4 separate regions of the Homo sapiens genome follow, and regions 2, 3 and 4 are each linked to region 1. The links are contacts of gene promoters, found by promoter capture Hi-C in blood cells and fetal thymus (Javierre and others, 2016). All regions are on one chromosome and are shown on one strand. The core of a region is centred on a gene start or on the middle of the fragment in contact, and the rest is flanking DNA. Distances in the headings are between cores, read along the strand shown.

The links. Contacts are between HindIII fragments. The CHiCAGO score rates a contact against its expected background, and 5 or more counts as called.
Region 2: a contact is called between a fragment that was not itself captured here and the fragment with the promoter of NUP210 in region 1, in 2 of 17 cell types (non-activated CD4 T cells and activated CD4 T cells). The highest score is 7.5, in non-activated CD4 T cells.
Region 3: a fragment that was not itself captured here is called in contact with the fragment with the promoter of NUP210 in region 1 in 2 of 17 cell types (total B cells and naive B cells); the score reaches 5.5 in total B cells.
Region 4: a fragment that was not itself captured here is called in contact with the fragment with the promoter of NUP210 in region 1 in 1 of 17 cell types (total B cells); the score reaches 6.6 in total B cells.

Annotation. Positions count from the first base shown.
Region 1 is chr3:13,418,049-13,422,969 of GRCh38, reverse strand. NUP210 (nucleoporin 210) reads left to right here and starts at 2,648. Exons shown (of 40, transcript NM_024923.4): 1 at 2,648-2,910. The coding sequence starts at 2,744. RefSeq lists silencers at 2,414-2,813, 2,864-3,433. The HindIII fragment of the contact is 10,112 bases long and covers 1-4,921 here.
Region 2 is chr3:13,886,297-13,891,217 of GRCh38, reverse strand. No RefSeq gene overlaps it. Among named protein-coding and RNA genes, the nearest start is that of WNT7A, 8.7 kb to the right of the region's middle. The HindIII fragment of the contact is 4,745 bases long and covers 1-4,604 here.
Region 3 is chr3:12,967,981-12,972,901 of GRCh38, reverse strand. The region is part of intron 1 of IQSEC1 (IQ motif and Sec7 domain ArfGEF 1); the gene reads left to right. Among named protein-coding and RNA genes, the nearest start is that of LINC02022, 85 kb to the right of the region's middle. RefSeq lists an enhancer at 4,639-4,718 and a silencer at 4,869-4,921. The HindIII fragment of the contact is 2,267 bases long and covers 2,231-4,497 here.
Region 4 is chr3:13,025,944-13,030,864 of GRCh38, reverse strand. All of the region lies in intron 1 of IQSEC1 (IQ motif and Sec7 domain ArfGEF 1), which reads left to right. Among named protein-coding and RNA genes, the nearest start is that of IQSEC1, 45 kb to the left of the region's middle. RefSeq lists enhancers at 1-7, 3,051-3,550, 3,551-4,052. The HindIII fragment of the contact is 4,973 bases long and covers 360-4,921 here.

The DNA of each region.
Region 1 (4,921 bases), core at 1,399-3,898:
CTTGTTGCACATGCTGTAGTGCAGTGGCTTGATCCCAGCTCACTGCAACCTCCACCTCCCAGGTTCAAGTGATTCTCCTGCCTCAGCCTCCCCAGTAGCTGGGATTACAGATGCATGCCACCATGTCTGGCGACTTTTTGTATTTTTAGTAGAGATAGGGTTTTGCCATGTTGGCCAGGCTGGTCTCAAACTCCTGACCTCAGGTGATCTGCCCACCTTGGCCTCCCAAAGTGCTGGGATTACAGGTGACAGCCACCGCACCCGGCCCATTTTGTTGTCTTCCATGGATTGTTTTCTGCTGGGAAAATTTCCTGATTGCCTTAAATCACCTGAAACGTAGTTGTTTAGCAAGCTGTGTCCACTCAGATGTGTTTTGCTGGGCCTGTTTGTATGATTCTTTTTTTGAGATAATTGTAGATTACATGCAGTTGTAACAAATAACAAGAGAGATGCTATAATATGTGCCCTTTACCCCGTTTCCACTAGTAGACATCTTGCAAAACTATGGGATAATATCACAACCAGGAAATGGACATTGATACAGTCAAGCCACCAAGCACTTCCATCCCAGGGACTCCTCATGTTGACCTTTTATAGCCACATCACTTCCTATGCCACGCCGCCCCTGACCCCACAATCACTCACCTGCTCTATACTTCTATAATTTTGCCAACTCAATAATCTTGTATAAAAGCAAGTTTACAGTATGTAACCTTTTGTGCTTTTGTAGTGTTTGTTTTCCAGTCCGTATAATTCCCTGGAGCTTCATCCAAGATGGATGTATTAGCAGTTCATTTCTTTTTTTGCTGAATAATATTCCATGGCATAGATGTGCCACAGTATTTAATCATCACCCATGAAGGACCTCTGTGCTGTTTCCAGTTTGGGCCTATTTGATAAAGCTGCTATGAATGTTTTATGTACAGGTGATTGTGGGAACATCACTTTTCATTTCTCTAGGATATATGTCCAAGAGTGAGATTTACCTGCCTCGCAAGACATATGTATATGTATGTATATGTGCCATATTTCATATATACATATGTGTGTGCATGTATGTGTATGTGTGTGCATGTGTGCCATGTTTTATATATATATATGCTTGTTTATGCATAAAATTTCTCTGGATGTATACTCAAGTGGGAAACACTCATTGCCTGTAGGGAAGGGTATTGGGTGATGGGGAGGGAGAGGAATCACTTTCACTTGGAACCCTTTTGAGCCTAAGTTTCAACCATCTGTCTGGATTACCTGTTGGAAAACAAATCAATCTTGTGCAACCCAGAAGACACCCACAGACTTCCTCACAAATACCCTCTGAGGCTGCCTTTTCCGCGCAAGTCTGTTTTTTGTTTCTTCAAAGGGAGCCCGTTGGAATTCCCCTCCCAGAGCACCTGGTTCCACACAGGGCCGACCCTCACCCCCTTAGTTCTGGTTATCTCCAGAGATTTCCCCCAACACACACATTCCCTGGTCTAGGGCCCTCAGGCTTCGAGGGTGACCCCAAACACCCCGCATCACCATCCAAAAGCCCCATGATCCCTGAGGGGCAGGCTCAGCCTATGCGGGCCTCGCTGAAGCCCAGTGCGGTGTCTATGCCCAACCCAGGGGCCGCCGCCTCCAAAAAGCCTTCCTAGCCTTACTGACATTTATCCTCTCCTTCCTGGTCACCCAGTGGCATCGTTGTGTGTCTTCCTGGTTACAGTCAGCATCCACTTCCTGCACTCCTCAGACAGCCGGCCAGTGCACCCTCACCCCACCCTTTCCTGACCTCCCGCTAGGCTGGGCCTTCTCTGCAAGGCTAGATTCATATTTTAGCGGCACCAAGCAGTCAGGTGCCTGCTGACGCATGCCTTCATGCAATTCACGACAGACAGCTAAAAGCCACAGAGCACAGCGCGGAATCTAAGGCCTTCCATTGGTGTGCAGGTGGATTCCGCGGTGCTAAACTTTCTTTTGTGGGTGTGGGGGCCGTGGAGGGGGTTGTGCTCTGGCAGCGTTGGCGCCCTAAATGACCTATAGGTAACCTCTAATGGCTTCCGCAGGGGGTGCAGTGCGGAGGACAAGAGCTTGGGGCTCTCTGGCTGAGTGATCTGGGGGCCATTCAACCGGTTTTTTCCTGGAGAAATGGGAATCTTAAGGCCTCTCTGGAAAGGGTGTGAGGGGGTCGAGGGGGAGCGGGCCCCGGGCCTTCAGCGCTTCAGCAGGTGGCTTCCCTTTGCGAGCCCGGGGTCCCTCTTCTGGGAAGCATGGGCTGGGACAAGGCAGGCGCCGGTTTTCTGCATCCCAAATGTCCTGGGGCATGTGTCCCTTCCTTGCTGACCGTGGGTCCGGGCCAGAGCGCAAGGTCCAAAGCCGGCGGCTTGGCTCCACCGCCAGGGGCAAATACCAGGGCGGGATGCGTGCTGCGGGGCGCCCCGGGGGCTCCCCCTTGGGACTTCTAGGGTCCAGGGGTCCCCGCGGGCGCGCCCCAAGCCTTCTCCCTCAGCTCCGGGGGCCCGGGCGCGCGCCCATCCCCCAGCCCCGCGTCCCTGCGCGAGGGCCGGGCTGGGGGTGGGGTCGCCGCGAGCTCGGCCCCCAGAGTTCCCGCGCTCAGGCCCAGGAAGCGGCGGCCGCCGACGGCCCTCGCCCCGCCCCCGCGCTCATCACCTGCTGGCCTGGCGCGCGCGCGGGCGGGAGCGGAGGGCAACGGGGCGGCGCGGGCGGCCGGGCGCAGGGTCGCGGGAGGTGACGCGCGGCGAGGATGGCGGCGCGGGGCCGGGGGCTGCTGCTGCTGACGCTGTCGGTGCTGTTGGCGGCGGGCCCCTCCGCCGCTGCGGCCAAGCTCAACATCCCCAAAGTGCTGCTGCCCTTCACGCGGGCCACGCGCGTTAACTTCACGCTGGAGGCCTCGGAGGGCTGCTACCGCTGGTGAGGCGCGCGGCCGGGCCGGGCGGGCGCCGTGGGCCGGGCTGGGCCTTCGCGCTGAGAGGCTGGGCGGGCGCCGGGAGGCCGGCAGAGCCGGCAGGTGCGCGGCGCGCTCTCGCTGGGCGCTAGGCTGCAGCACTCGGAGCGGCGGGTGCGCGTGGGTCGCCACCACTGCTCATGTCATGGCGCCGTCCGGGCCTCCGCGCCGCTGAGGCGCGAGCAGAGCGGGCGCAGCCTGGCGGCCGTGACCCGCGTGTTCTGGGTTGTGCGGGAGGAGGGGTGGCCTGGGGAGCGGCGTCTGGGACCGCAGGGCCCAAGCCGGCCGGGCCCGAGCCGGCCTGACCCGGGAGGGGGCGCCGGGGCAGCTGGGCCGCACTTCCCTTGAGTCTGGGACCCCAGCTCGGGTTTGTCTGTGACCGCCCTCGCCCTGGCGTGGGAAGTGAGTCTGTGAAACGAAGCGCAGCGCCTAGCGTCGCGGGGAGGAACGGAGACCCTGGAGGAAAGGAGTTTTGGAGGGAAGCCCAGGGGCCGCTTTACAGAGGCGAAGTGAGACGAGGCAGGCCGGCGCTTCCCCTCAGGCTGCCTCGGCGCGGGTCCTGATGCTCAGGGCATTTCCATCACCCTCCCTCTCGGGTTGGGAGTTCTCCAAGGGGTCGGATGCGGAGTGTGACCCTGTGGAACCACAGGGACCCATGAAACCAGAGACCGACACTGACAGGGCGGTGCAGTCCAGCCCTTCCATTTTGCAGACCAGGGGAAATGGAGCTCCTGCCCCTGGCAAGGCTGCGTGGGCACGACTGAGCGCCCTTAGCTTCCCAGCCCAGCCGTCCTAGGGGTGAAAAGATGGGCTTCCGCCCTTCCCACCCCCAGGATGCTCAGTAGTTGCTCCCTTTATTTCTGTTTCAAGACTGGGTCAAGGTTGAGGCAGAACGGGGTGTGACCACGTGACAGCCATGTGTGTAAGCCTGGACATGTGTGTGTCAAGCCTGTTTGAGTATTAGTCTGTGCGTGTATGTAAGTGTGATGCCCGAAGCTCAGACCAGCCAGCTTTCTCTGTTGCTTGCACTATTTGCCCTATTTCTTTCTTTCTTTTTTTTTTTTTTTTTTTTTTTTTGAGACGGAGTTTTGCTTTGTCGTCCATGCTGACGTGCAGTGGTGCGATTTCGGCTCACTGCAACCTCCACCTCCCGGGTTCAAGCGATTCTCCCGCCTCGTAGCTGGGATTACAGGTGCAGGCCACCTGGCTAATTTTGTTTGTTTGTTTGTTTGTTTTTAGAGTGCACTCCAGCCCTTGTTGCCCAGGCTGGAGTGCAATGGCGCGATCTCTGTCCACTGCAACTTCCGCCTCCCCGGTTCAAGCGATTCTCCTGCCTCAGCCTCCCGAGTAGCTGGGATTACAGGCGCCCGCCACAACACCCAGCTAGTTTTTTGCATTTTAGTAGAGACGGGGTTTCACTATGTTGGCCAGGCTGGTCTCAAACTCTGGATTCACTGTGTTGGCCAGGCTGGTCTTGAACTCCTCAAGACCAAGGAGAACTCCTCAAGCGATCCACCTGCCTCAGCTTCCCAAAATGCTGAGATTACAGGCGTGAGCCACCATGCCTGGCTTGTCTGGCCAATTTTTGTATTTTTAGTAAAGATGGGGTTTCACTATGTTGGTCAGGCTGGTCTCGAACTCCTGACCTCAAGTGATCCCGCCGCCTCTGCCTCCCAAAGTGCTGGGATTACAGGCGTGAGCCACTGCACCCGGCCTGCCCTATTTCTTTTTTGAAGGTCTCCTTCCTGAAATCAAGACGTACTAGGTCAGCCCATTGCATTTTGGTTTTAGTGCTTTATGCACCTGGAGGCTCCTATTTCTGGCCTGATGCCAGAGGCTGAACTTGGGCATTAGGTTTTCTGTATCCCAGTCTAAGGCCTAGTCTTGTGTGGGAAAATCAGCTGTTAGTCAATACTGTGGCGGGGATACATGCTCATTCTCTTGTTGAAGCTGTCTGTCCTCTCAGTATGTGGGCAA
Region 2 (4,921 bases), core at 983-3,482, 470 kb before region 1:
AAGACCCAGAGATGCAGACTCACTTGCCTAAAGTCACACAGTAATTCCACAGTGAAACTGGGATATATGATCAGATCTGTCTTCTCCAAAAAGCCATCCTTAGCTCCAGAGAAAGGCAGCCTCCCTAAAGCTGGGGGATATACTGGCCAACCACTCTGCTCCAGCCCCAGAAGCCTCCCAGGGAATGTGTGTGCATGAGGGGCAGAGCGCCAGGTGGCAACTAAGTGATAAACAGGCCAGGACATGCCAGGATGTGTGCCGGAAGCCCAGCCCACTAAAGGCAGAGGTGTGGCTGGGCCAGGGTGGGGGCCGGACGTGGGGATGCACTTTTTCCCCAGCACAACAAGCTGTGGGCTTCCTCCCTCCCAGCTGAGCCCTGCCTGATATGGCAGGCCCAGAATGGGTCGCTAGCTAGAGAGTGGAGGGGTGGCAGGAGGGCAGGGGCCCAGGGCCAGTCCCCAGAGGAAGTCACATGGCTGGGGGCACAGGCATGACCCAGGAATGGTGAGGGGAGGGAGATATTTCAGGCCCGAGAGGAAGGGCCCAGCCCATGAGATGAATCACCCGGGCCGGAGATTATCCTGAGGAAGACCTTGGGGGTGGAATGGTGATAAGTGCTCTCCTCCCGAGGTGACCAGGAGCCCACGGGCAGATGGCCAGCGGCCGGTGAGGCAAAGTGTGGCTGGGAGCGCACAGATGAGTCTGAGAGGGCCCACCAGATCCAGGTGCTTTCCAGAAGGGACTTCTCAGTGACCCTACAACATGAGGGGAAGCCCTGGAGACCAGTCACTTGCACAAGGTCACAGGGCCAGAGATGGGATTTGGAGTGGGAGTGTGCCTTTCTGTTTCCGCAGCTTGTCTCCCCAAAGCAGGGAGCTAAGACTGCCACTGCCCTCCTGCTCCAGGGGCTTCCTGGGTGGACATGAAACTTCACTGATAAGACACCAGGCTTTAGACTCCGAATGGCAAACCAGGTGTCAGAGCTTATGCTTGCTCCTGGATGAGGCACTAGACTTGTCCCAGCTTCTTATTGCAGGAATGGGAAGTAGGGAGTCCAGAGGCTCACCCAGAACAAGGGGCTTACCCAGGATTCCAGAGCAGGCTGGACAGAGGCCAGTGGACCTGAGTCCTGCCTCCCAGCCCACAGATGATGATCTTCTGGATCTCTAAGGGTGGCCATCAGCATCACCTGGGAACTTGTTAGAAATGCACATTTTGGGGTGCATTTCATTCAGTCCCAGATGGACTGAATGTGAACCTGGGCAGTGGGCATCCCTCTGAGCATTAACAAGCCCTCCTGCAGGGGATTCTGGTGCCAGCAGAACATAAAGTACACACACACACACACACACACACACACACACACACACACACACACACACACATATTCACCGGGTGGTATTTGGTATAAAATGGCCTCACAATGGTCTTTACCTCAAATTCAATTAAAACAATCCCATCCACCTGATGATCCATCCATGGGCTCACAAACCATGAGAATGCAGAGGTCCTTCAAAATCAACAGGGATTTGTTTCTCAAGCTGGAGGGATATGTGGGCTCCTTGAAAGGGGAAACTTGTACACTACTCCCCCTGGCCAATAAACACACTCAATGGTGGTTTAACTAATTTTTAGTACACCATTGCTTAGATATGTACTATCATAAAACTAAGCGTAGGCTCTTATGCTATTAAAATCTGCAAGTTCCAGATGAAATATAAACTAACATAAACACCAGAAAATCTAACTTTTAAATGAATGATAATTGACATATGCCAGAGAATGTTACTTTGCTGAAGCCAAGTGGCAGCTTGTAGCCTGATCATGGTGTCAATTGTCACCATGTAGGGCCCATTAAATTTGGCACCATCTATCACCCTCTGTCATGAGATGAATCAAACCTCCCAACCCCTTTCCTCTAGCCCACCTCCTCCTAACCCTTTCTTCACACAGGGCAGGGGCTTCAGTGAATTACTGCTTTCTTCTCCTGGGCTCCAAATCACAAAAGTGGTTTTCCTGGGAACCTTATGACCATAAGCAAAAATGCAAACTCAAACAGCAAAGTTAATTAGAGGACAGTTATCAGTTATAATGAGGTCATCCTAATAGTTTGAAATATGAGGATGTTAGATTCATGTTAAAATGAAAAAAAAAAAAAGACCATTTGAAATTCTCATTCTTGGAGCCCTGAGCATTCCTCTCTGGAAACCTGGGAGTCCATAGATCCCTTTTGAAGAGACAGAGACTTAGAGCTGGCATGCCTTACTCCATTTCTGAGCTGGAGAAATCAAGGGCCACAGAACAGTGGGGACCCACTGTTCCCTTCTCTGATCCCTCTAACCTCTATCAGCTGATTTCTCACTGGTATGAGGAAGAAGTGTCCCAGTCACCATTGTATCCAAATGCAAGGGGCTCCCCTGGGATGAGTGAGCCGCTCTCCCTGAGAGAGGTTTGAGCACAGTTGGCCACTACTCAGTGGAGATGGGATAGACTTCCCTCCACCTCTGCCAGGAAGTCCAACTTGGGAGGTCTTGAGGGGGACCTGGGCATCTGTTTCATACCTAAGTAATTTGGATGCACATAGTAGTTTGAGAAACAGTGGCCCTGATCATCTTTAAGATTCCTCTGATCCTAGAGGGCTGGATTCCAATACACATCTTTATCGCCATAATCATCATCATCAAATAACTATCATGTGTTGAGTGCATGCTATGTGCCAGTTGCTCTGTGAAATGTGAATGTGTTATATATATGATTGCTGTAACCTATGAGATGGCATTATTATTATCATCATCTCCATACAGATACGGAAATAGGCTAAGGGAGGTTCACCATTTTCCTAAGGTCACACAGCAAGAGGCTGAGCCGAGACTCAAAGCTGGGTGTGTTGCCCCAGTGCCCTAGCAGTATTTCATATCCAACTCTGCCCCTAGCTGGCTATGTGCCTTTGGAGCCTCTCGGGCCTGCAATGGGGCTCAGTCTCCCCACCTGTAGGATGGATTGTCTCTTTGCAGCCTCTTCCACAATCTTGGCCCCCAGATTCACAAACAGATTGATGGTTCAGCAAGGGAGTCAATAGGACTTTGGCAGCAGGGGGAGGGAGACATCAATTTTCCAGCCCCAAGGCCCATGTTCCAGCTCCTCCCAGTCAGGATGCTCTGGTCCTACCCATTCTGCCCCCAACTCCTGCCCCCTTGATAACACTGAATCACTGGCCTGGGTGAGGCCTACCTCGTGCATAGCAGTGGGTATTAGGAATGCTGGGATGGAGATGAAATCTATGTAGGCGAAATCAGTGCAAAGGAGCCTATTATTAGCAGGAGTGAGGAGATGTGGGAGAAGACAAAAAGGGAATGGAGACATGTGTTAACATAAGTGCCAGACACTCAGCTAGACGCTCAGCTAGATGCTGGGTAAGCAACTTAACCCCTCAACATCTCAATTTTCTCTTCCGGAAAATGAGGTTTTTATGAGGAGTGCATGAGAATCATCCAATTATTCATGTGTCTAACAATTATTCATCAAGGGCCGCCCATGTTCCAGGCATCATTCTATGAAATGCAGCTGTTAAGTAACAAATATTCCTACTTGTGGGGCAGACAGTGCAATGAGGAAGATAGACAAACAAAAGTCAACAAATACACAATGTAAAGTTGGGGGGTGCTGATACATTCTAGGCATATAAATAAAGCCAGAGTAAGAGGTGGTCTAGACAGTGCCATGAAAGCGCAGGGTACTCAGGGGTCACCCCCATGGGGCAGCGATGTGGGAGGTGATATTCTGCTTGAATGAAGTAATGGGTGAACCATACAGCCATCTGGGAAAAGTGCTGCCAGCAGCAAAGAAATATAAGGCATCCATCAGACAGCCTGGCACATACTAGGTCCTCAGTAAATTGTGCATGCTATCACAGTGCAAAGAGAGAGGCTGTTTCCTTATTTGAGCAGATGGATGGTCTCTGTGTTCCTGCTGCTCCCCAGCTGTAGGAATGTAGTCTTCAGACCCCAGCTTTTTGCCCTGCCTGCTCTAATCCTGGGAGAGAGGACCTGGGGGCCAACAGCTCCAAGGCAGAAGGAGGAAGAAGAGATTCCATCGGAGGCAGCACAACCTCCTACCAGCCTGGCGCACAGAGGGGGGCTCCCCAAGCAGACACCATGGTGCCAGTCACAGGAGTTGAATGCTGGATAGCCACAAAATAATAGAGGCTGATCTCACTGGTGAAAACCCACATGGGACTGGATAACAGCCCTGCTCTGACAATGTGGGTGCCTTCCCATCTACAGGATGAAGGCTACAGGCCTTTACAATTGACACCCTAATGGCTTCTGCCACCTCCTTCCCACCTCTCCTTCTTTCCAGCTCCTCTGCTCTCCACGGGCTGATTACCCGGGGTCTGGTGATCATCACTGGGTGTGCAGCTCTGGGTGCCCTCTGGAGGTGCCCATGTCAGGGGATGGGGAGCAAACAAACACACAGATGAGGCTGTGGTGTTTGTGGTGTTTATGGTGGCTGCTTGAACAGGGGCTAGCACAGAGGCTGTGGAGGTCAATATCCTTTTGGAGGAGTTGGCCAGGGATGGCTTCTGGAGGAGGCAAAATGAAGCTTGTTCAGTTCTCAGCTCTTCAGAGCCTTCTCTGGTCACACTACCTGAGGTTCCCCACGGAGCTGTTCTGTGTCACAGCTCTGAATTTCATTTTCTTCTGAGAACTTTCCCACATGAGAGTATTTCTTTCCTTCATCAATTCATTCAACAAAAATGATGCTCCCGCTGGGTGCAGTGGCTCACGCCTGTAATCCCAGCACTTTGGGAGGCCGAGATGGGCGGATCACAAGGTCAGGAGATGGAGACCATCCTGGCTAACATGGTGAAAGCCCGTCTCTACTAAAAATACAAAAAATTAGCTGGGCATGGTGGCGGGCA
Region 3 (4,921 bases), core at 2,115-4,614, 450 kb after region 1:
CATGCAGCTGTCTCTGGCTTTTTACTGCATCTAACAGTCTTAGGAATAGGTTCTATTCCATATTTGGATGAGAATGATGGTCTTAAAACACACCCGCCCAGGCTGGATGCTGTATTGTCCAGGCTGGGTGCTGTATTGTGGTGGCCAGTGTGGCATGAAGCCTCGGGTCAGTGTCAGTGTTTATAGTTCTGGGGCACATCCCTCCACCTCTCTGGACCTCAGTTTCCCTGTCTGTAAAATGAGGATTTGGGGCTAAGTGGCAGCCGCAGAGCTCCCTCGCAGACCCAGCATTCTGGCTGTGATGGGGGAATGCTCATTTCGTAAGATGAATGGTAACATAGTGGTGGTTAACAGACACTGAGCAGAAGCTCAAAATGTGCTACACCACCAGTCTTATCGATTTTTGTGGTTGTCAGTAAGACACAACCTGCTTGAAAGACGAGGAACCTGGAGTGGCCCAAGAGGTGGCTTAAGTACCATCAAGCGTTTGGGGTCTTTGTGGACTAGTTCTGGTGGGCTTCAGAGCCTCCTAGAAGATGTCAGAAGACCTTCAGTCCCTTGATTTCTTCATTTCACTGGCTTTTTTTTTTGTGACAGGATCTCAGTCTGTCATCCAGGCAGGAGTGCAGTGGCACAATAACAGCTCACCACAGCCTTGACCTTCCTACACTCGGGTGATCCTCCCACCTCAGCCTCCTGAGTAGCTGCGACTACAGGCACATGCCATCATGCCTAGCTACTTTTTCTGTTTTTTTGTAGAGATGGGATTTTGACATGTTGCCCAGGCTTCACTGGCACATTAAAAAAAAAAAAAAATTGCATTGGTTCCAGTCCAATCCATAACTGGCCTTTTGTTTTTGTTTGTTTGTTTGTTTGTTTGTTTGTTTTGAGATGGAGTCTCACCCTGTTGCCAGGGCTGGAGTGCAGTGGCACGATCTCGGCTCCTCTGCCTCCTGCGTTCAAGTGATTCTCCTGCCTCAGCCTCCTGAGTAGCTGGGATTACAGGCACCCACCACCACGCCCAGCTAATTTTTGTATTTTTAGTAGAGATGGGGTTTCGCCATGTTGGCCAGGCTGGTCTCGAACTCCTGACTTTGGGTGAGCCACCACACCTGGCCCATAACTGGGTTTTTAAAAAGTAACAAACACTTGTTTAAAAAATTTTTTTTGGTGTTGGAGGAGGGTACAGAGTCTCGCTCTGTCTCCCAGGCTGGAGTGCAATGGCACTCTTGGGTCTCTTTTAAGAAGTAATCTATGATTATACAATCTTATATAAGCATACTAGTGTTCTGTAGATTCTTTTATAAATACACTTCACATTTTTCTGGACTTTCTATCACAATGTTGTGTCTCAGATCTTTTCCTATAAGTATGCAAGATGCTGCTGCCATCTTTTTAACATGGGACTCCATTGATGGGTGTAATACAATTTACTTAACCAGTCTGCATTGAGAGGCATTGCACGTTTCCTCCCGAGTTCTGCTTTTTCAAATAATTAATATCCTTGGGCATGCCTCTATGTGCACATGGGCAGGCGGCGCTGTAGGATTCGTTCCCAACAGTGCATCCCATCTTGTGGCCATCTCATCTGAGGATCATCTGGCCCAGCCCTATCATTTCAGTCACTGTCTTCCCCCATGTTTGGATTCTGCTCTTGCATGGGGTGTCTGGCTGAACACGCAGGGGGTTTGCCAGGGTAGTTGGAGCCAATGTAAGACTGCCTCAGGAGAGCTTCATTTATTTCAGAGAAGGGCTGCATGTGCGCATTAATATTGTATGTTTTGCAGGTCATGTGTCTGTTGTAACTGTTTAACTTCATCATCATAGCATGGAAGAAGCCATTGACAATACATAAGTGGATGAGCGTGGCTCTGTTCCAATAAACCTTTATTTTAAAAAAACAGGCAGCAGGCTGGACTTGGCTCTCAGGCCATAGTTTACCAACCTTTGGCGTATTCAGCTGTCGAAGACCTTCTGTGCACCAGGCTCCACTGTCGGCACAGGGGCTGCTGCAGGGAAGGACATAGAACCAGCCCTGGCAGTTGGAATACAGCTCACTGGTATAAGCAAGCAGGTGCAGAGTAACCTGATGCCATGTAAAAGGAGTTTCTGACTTGGACTAGGCGCTGGTCATGGGTGTCTTTCTGGGAGCAGTGACATAGGAAGCTGAAAACCAAGGTCCTAGCTGTGAGCCAGGCACAGTGGGGAGTGTGGGGAACTGAAAGAAGCTTAGTGTTGCTGGAGGTGTGGCAGGCATAGAGTGGGCAGGAGGAGAGGTAAGGGATGGAGAGATGAACCAGGCCACGAGGCTGGCTGTGCAGGGAGGCTGGGCTTGATCCTGACAGCTTGGAGAGAGGGGCTGCAAAGGCTGGGCTTTGGGAGAGTGCCACACATCTGGCTGGAGGAAAGCAGGGAGGCTGTGGAAAGACTGGAGGCTATCAGAAGCTGGGGAGGATAGAGATAAAGTCGGGTTGTAGCATGTGAAATGGGCCAAGGCAAGCAGCTCAGGACTAAAACATGGGGTGATACAGTGGAACTAAACGTCTCCATGACTTTTTACATCCTGTGACCCCATACATGGGGCCCTCCTCATCCCTCAAGGTCCAACCCAAAATGTCCCCCCATTAGAGCCTCTCCTGGGGCAGAATTACAAGCTCTTTCCTCCACTGTCACGACACCATACTGGGGAATACTTGTCACAGCAGTGTTTCCCCACTGAGGCCTCAGAGTAAGTACTAATTAATGCTTGCTAAATTAAATTAAACAGCAAGGTGAATTAGCTGGGGTAGAGGTGGCTGCTAAGCCACTCTTTACAGTTGCAGAAACTGAGACTCAGAAAACTAAGCAATTTGCCTGAATGGTGCATGCAAGGATTCTGACCAGTCTGGTCATTTCTGCAGAAAAATTGGCCTTCTCTGCCTCTCTAGGCTGGAACTTTTCTTGCTTCTGCTCACAGTTCCCTAAATTATTAATCTGCAAGGCAGTTAGCGGAGCAGGAGCAAGAGGCACACTTTGCAGAAAGATAAAACAAGAGAATCAAGATGCATTTGGTTTCCAGAGTGTCCATCATCTGGTATTCCAAATGCTAACAGCGAAATTCAATCCCCTTCTAAATCCCAGCCGAGACAATGTCGCCAAGACCATCCTGCTGGGCGGCAGGGCCCTGGGCCTGGAGAAGTGCCTGAAATTCTTGGACAATCCGGATGGTGAGGCTGTCAAAGACCGTGCCCAGAGTGCTCCAGCAGCTGGGCTGGGGGAATTATTTTGGCTCCATTTATTGCAGTCTATTTTTAGAGAGCACTTCAGACAGGGGTGGGAGTTTTCTGCTGCCTCTGCCATCAACTGGGTCATGTGTACCCTATCCTCTCCCAGCTTCCTACCCCTACCCTAACCATGACAGATGCCAGATGTGGCTGTGGTCTTTGAGCAGTGCAGCCTAGTGTTCTTCTCCTTCCAGAACCCTCTATGTATAGGTACTTTTGTCCATCTTTTTTATTATGGCCTTCCTTGTGAGTGTGAGGTGGTATTGCGGTCTTGATTTACAGTTCCCTAAAGATTAGTGAGGTTGAGAGCATCTTTTCATGGGCTTATTGGCCACTTGTAGATTGTCTTTGGAGAAAAATCTACTCAGATACCTTGCCTGTTTTTAAATTGGGTTATTTGCCTTATTATTTTTGAATTGTGAGCGTTCTTTATGTACTATGGACACTAGACCCTTACTAGATACATGATTTGCAAATATTTCCCCCCATTCTGTGTCTTCATTTATTTTTAACAGAGCAAAGAAAACATGGGAAGCTGAGAAGAGGAATGTGGAGATGGGCAGTGAAGGGGCACTGGGTTCCTGCTCAGCCTCTTGCCTCGGAACCCAGGTGCTCTAAACTGGCATAAGGGGCACTGGGCTCCTGCTCAGCTTCTTGCCTGGGAACCCAGGTGCTCTAAACTGGCTTTAGGGGCTGCCCTCCTCTGCTGCAAGCTGGGCCACCTCAGCCCCCTTCCTTCACTGTCCCCCTCCAAATGAAAGATTCAGAAGGGCACAAGACAATGCCCCTGCCTTGATGGCTTCTTGCAGCTTCCTGACTCCCGTAGGCCTGCCAGCTGCCTGGCCCTCCAGGAGATGGACTTGTAGGTGGGTGGCCCAGGACAGGTGGGGTTTTGATTGTTCCATATCTGCTTGCTGTCTCCCAACCACGTCTAGGCATTCCACAGGTGTGGGCGCTGGGCACTGTATCTGCCTTCATGGAGCCCAAGGACAGATAATAAACAAGTAAACATACAAATGGAGGACTGCAAGCCATGAGCGCTCATAGTAGGAAGAGCCTGGGAGAGGAGGAAAGAGTGAGGGAAGCCGTCTCTTAGTTGGCCCAGTTAAGCTGAGCCTCAGTTTACTCATTGGTAAAATGAGGCCAGGGGTAACTCCACCTACTTCACAATGTTGCCTTGAAGGCCAACTATCACTAAAGAACTCTAAAGTGCTAATTAGTATTACTTTAAGCTTGTCATAGGTGCTTGAAGGGTGTCTCTGGGTGGAGAAAGGGTAGGGGGCTGGGTGGGCTTAGGGAGAAAGAAGCAACTTTCCATTAGATCTTCCCCCAAAAAGCCGCCAAAAGGGTGGTACCAACCTCAGGATAGGGCCCATTCCCTTCTCTGGGGCGCATCAGAGCCCCAGAACCACACGGTTCGGTCCAGGCAGGCAAAGGCCAGGTTTTATAAACTGAAGGCAAAATCGGGATAGGCAGATGTTGAGTAGGCATCAGCGGAGTAGGCTCTGGTTGGGGGTTTGGCGCTGTGCATTTGTTGTGGTTACACGCTGGAGAGGAAGACATGGCTCCCGGGAGGCGCCAGTGTTGGAGGGGCTGCGCAAAGTCCTCCTTCCAGAACAGAGGCTTCGCGCGCTGGGACCTGGATGCAGTGTCTGGGA
Region 4 (4,921 bases), core at 1,597-4,096, 390 kb after region 1:
AAGGCGAATCCCACGCCTGCGTGGCACAGCTTTGCGCCTCATGCTTGAGTTTCTTCCACCCACTCCATGCTGTTTTTCATGTTCAGCTCTCCCAAAGGGTCTCCAAAAATGTCTTTTTACAGCTGGTTTGTTCAAATCAGGGCCCTAACAAGACCCACACAGTGCACGTGTCTCGTAAGCATCCTTTTACCTAGAGGCTCCCCTTCCTTTTTCATCCTTGCAGTACTCATTGAAGGAACAGGGCCATTTGCCTGTGGCATGTCCCACATTCAGGATTAGGCTGATTGCCTCATGATGTCATTTAAGCTATTCCTCTGTCACCTGTAGTTCCTGTTAACTGGGAGTTAGATCAGGAAGCTTGATTAGACTCAGGTCCAATTTTTTAAGCCAGTTGATTTTAAAAGAAAATATTTAATAAATAACTAGAATGGCCCATAAAGAGAGTGCACCATAAAGGTGGGGCGAAGCTGAGCGTGGTGGCTCATGCCTATAATCCAGGTACTTTGGGAGGCCAAGGCAGGAGGATCACTTGAGACCAGGAGGAGTTCGAGACCAGCCTGGCGGATATGGCAAAACTCCATCTCTATTAAAAATACAAAAATAGCTACGTGTGGTGGTGCATGCCCGTAATCCCAGCTACTCAGGAGGCTGAGGCATGAGAATCGCTTGAACCTGGCAGGTGGAGGTTGCAGTGAGCAGAGATTGCACCACTGCACTCCAACTTGGGTGACAGAGTTAGACTGTATAAAAAAAAGATTTTAGACAGAGCATGATGGCTCACGCCTGTAATCCTAACACTTCCGGAAGCTGAGATGGGAAGATTACTTGAGGCCAGGAGTTCAAGACCAGTCTGGTTAATGTAGCGAGACCTCATCTCAAAATAAATAAATAAATAAAGGTGGGACGAGGGTGGAGCTGGGAATGGTCTGGGAATGGAGGAAAGCCATGGAGCAGGTTCAGGCAGCAGACTTACCTCTACAGGTCTGGGTATTGGGAAACAGCCCAGAGGCAGCAGATGACAAGGAAAGGAGGCAGGGAGGCCAGTGAGGAGGTGAGGACCCAGCCCAGGGTGCTGCAGTCCTTACCAGTCCTCACCAGTCCTCTTTGAAGGGGATTTGTGTGGACACGTGCACGCATGCACGCACACACACATCTCACACCGCATGTGCGCACACACACTCACGCTCACGCACAAGGGGAGGGTTCCTGTTTGGCCCCCCTTGACCTGGACGGCAAGACCCAGGGAGTCAGGATACAGGGGCTAAAGAATTGAGGCCTCTCAGCACAACAAAATGGAGATTGAAGGGAGCAGCTTTCTTCTTTGTCTAAGGAAGGGGGTAGTGAATAGGCACAGCCTGCAACAAAAAGGATTTAGGTTAGACATTGAGAAAGACTTCCAAGCCAGCCGAGGAGAGCCGTGTTATGTAGCGGTTATGAAGCATGTCTCAGAACAAAGCTGCTTCAGTTCAATTCCCCACCCTGCCATGTTCTATCTGTATTAACCCTGGGCGTGTCTGTGGACCTCTCTCTGCCTTCCTTTCTTTATCCTATAGATCAGATAGTAATAGCACCTACCTCATGGGATGAGCCTAAGCATTAAATGAATTAGTCACACATAGAGCAGTGGCTACAGGAACCATTCAGTAGCCCTTAGGTATCACCGTTCTTGTTGTGTTGATGGAGAGCTGTGTCACCCTGGAAGTTTTAAAGACGGCCATAGCCAGAAACTTTCAAGGCTAGAGGCTTAGAAGGGCAGTTGCTATATATTCGTGATCTTCTATATAGCTTTACACAGTACAGTCACACAGCGTTAGCTCCTTCCATTTGTTTCATCTTCACAACCCCTGGAGATAGATCCTATTTTTCTCCCCATGTTGTGGATGAAGAAACTGAGGTAGGCCAGAAGGTGTGAGGAACGGCTTGTGAGGATCCCTTGGCCAGCGCAGGTCTCAGAATCAGGACTTCTGATCCGGAGTCCCAGATCTGCGGCTTCCTTACTGTGTGACCTCAGGGCAAGTCGCCTCCACCTCTGAGACTCCATTCTCCATCTCCAACACTGAAGAATGAGGCCAGAGCCTCCGGTGCCTATGTTGTCTGATTTCCTTGCATAGAAGATCTGAGCACAAACCCTGATGGTCAAACCCAGTACCATCTGCCCTCCCCATGGCTGAAAGGAAACGTGTCAGAACCCTCAGAAGGGACAACCCATGGGGACTGGCTGTCACTTTGACTGATTGCTAATGTGAGTCCTTCCATCTGGGGTGTCATCTGTCCCATGACCATGCCACCTGCAGAGGCACCCAGTTCTAGGGTCTGGCTCTGCCCTGACCCCGGTTGGGGTCACCTTAGCAAGTTCTTGGAAAAACATCCCCCAAACAGCCTCTACCCAGATGCTCAAGAGCTGCTCAGGATCCTGTTTCTACCCTCCCATGGCATAACTCGATAAGACTGTGCAATTGTCTTTATACTTCCTGCCGGCCTAGCCTGGCCCAGCCTCGGGGGACAGCTGACAAACAGAGGCCAGACGGTGAGCAGTCCCTGGCCCCAGATCCCACCCTGGCAGGTCATGTCCCTTATCTGGGACTCAGTTTTATTTGCAAAATAAGGGCAGAGGGATCAAGTGAGCTACTTGTTCATTCATTCATTCGGCAGGTATTCATTCATTAACTCCCCCTCTGGGCCAAACCCTATGCTTGAGGCGTGAGAAATGGATAAGCAAACCCCCTATTTGTCCTCCTGTCACTTCCAGTCTGGGATTATCAGCCCTGCGGGGCTTTGAGGGGCCACAGGCGTCTCTGGAGCTGAAGCAATCATGGGCAGCTTCCTGGGGGAGGAGGCAGCTAAGTGGACCTTGAAAGACAAGAAGGAGCGGAGGATACAAGAGGTATCCTGTGGGCTAGACACTCACAGATGTATTTTATTTGGCTTGCATAGGATTAACCTACATATCATTGTAAATTTGAATTTATTGCAAACATATAAAAATCAAGAGCTGTTACGTAAAAACCTGGATTTCTGATATCTGAAAAATCAGAGCCCTTATTCCTACAGAGCAGCCATCAGCCAGAGCCAAGCCACAGTTGTTCTGTTTGACCAGTCGGAGTCCCCCCGTTCTGCCTTGCCTCATCATCCCTCCAAACCTGCTCCCACTGGCCATCCCTGTGTCCCTGTCACCGTGGATGGAACCTCCATTTTTCCAGTTGTTCAGGCCAGCAACCCAGGCATCATCTTCCACTCCTCTTTTCTCTCTCACCTCCTCATCTTATTGATCAGACATTTCTACCAGTTCCACTTTGAGAATGTCTCTAGAATCCAACCTCTTGTCCTCACCTTCCTGTCCACCACCCCAGTCCAAGCAACAGTTCCTCCCTGGCCCCTGCCTGGCCATTGCCCCCTTGCGGTCTCTTTTCTGCACAGCAAGTAAAGTGAGGCCCTGCAGGCCAAGTCTGGCAACTTGGACGCTGGCCCTTTGTGCTCCATAAGATGGACTTGCGGAAGCTCTTCTCTGCCTTCTTTCCCAGCTCCTGCCCTGAAGTGAGTGCCCAGCCCCTGCCTGCGCACTGGATATTAGTGGCCATCCTAGGCCCGAGACAAGATGGTGGAACTCAGGATGCCAGCTGCCTGGGAGGCTGGGAGCCCACTACTGTCCTCCAAGACCCAACGCTCTCAGCACCCTGGACTTTCATTTTTCCATTTGGAAAACGGGCATTCCAGCACCCATCCTCAAAAGGCCAATGCTTCTTGAGAAGGGGGATCCAGGGTTTTGAAGTTCGGCCAACTCGGTGTATGTGCCTTCCTGCGCCTTGCATGGCTCTGGGCACCATTGGAAGACTGCAGATATAAATGACAAGTGATTTATTTTGTTTTCAGCCTCCAGAGCTTTAGCTTTAGAGTCAGATAGGCAGAGCTGGGTTTATATATCATCCTGAGTAACTAACCTCAGCATCTGAACCTCAGTTTATTAATTGGTAAAAAAAAAAACAAACAAAAAAAAAAAAAACTGGGGAGATAATAACTGCTACTTCATAGGGTGATTGTGCAAAGAACTAAGCTACATAGATCTCCTCACCTGCTCATGTGAGCTCTCAGAGCAGTGAGGGAGGGATGCAGAGACAGGTCATCCAAGTGCAGGGAAGAAATGGCTGCAGTCCAGGCTCAGGGAACGGAGAGGATGCAGGGCAAAAAAGGATGGACTCCTGGAGAAGGGAAGTGTATCATCCAGAGAAATGATCTAGTTTATACGCCTTCTTCATGGCACAGCCCACTGTGGGAAATCGTTTTCATTTGCTCCCTTGGTACAGAAGGAAGGCCAGCCCCACCAGGCTCCACAGTTTTGTTCACCAAATCCTCAAGTGATATCTGGCACAGAGTAAGCCAATTAATGAATGTTGACTGGGTGAAGGAACAAGCCAATGGAAAATTGGCTTCCTAGAGGAGGTGTCGTCTGAGTTTGAGCCTTGAGCATTGGGTCCTGGTAGGAAACATGGGTCACTACACAAGCTCCCTTGCAGTGTGGCCCGTGATGGGGCTGTGTGCAGGGTGGGATGGGGTTAAGGGAACTGGACACCTGGGCTGGCAGAAGGGGGGAACCCTAACCAGCCCTGGGCCAGAGGGTTGGGGGAGAGAACAGTTTCATGAACCAGAAAGAGAGAGACCTGGGTGCAAACAGCCACCCATCAGGACTGTGGCTGCCGAGGGGCACAGGAAGCGAGGACAGAGCTGAGGCAACGAGTACCCTGACCTATCATTCTCTCCTCCACCTCCTGACCTCCTGCCAGGGCCGCTGCTGGCCACCCCGTCAGGAACCAGGAGGCAGTGGGAGCCTGGGAGCTGCAGTCCCGGGCCCAGAGCAGACTGGGGCATGTGGAGAATAACTGGGCAATATGTGCAGAATTCCTGGCCCAGGGTGGACAGGCCTGGA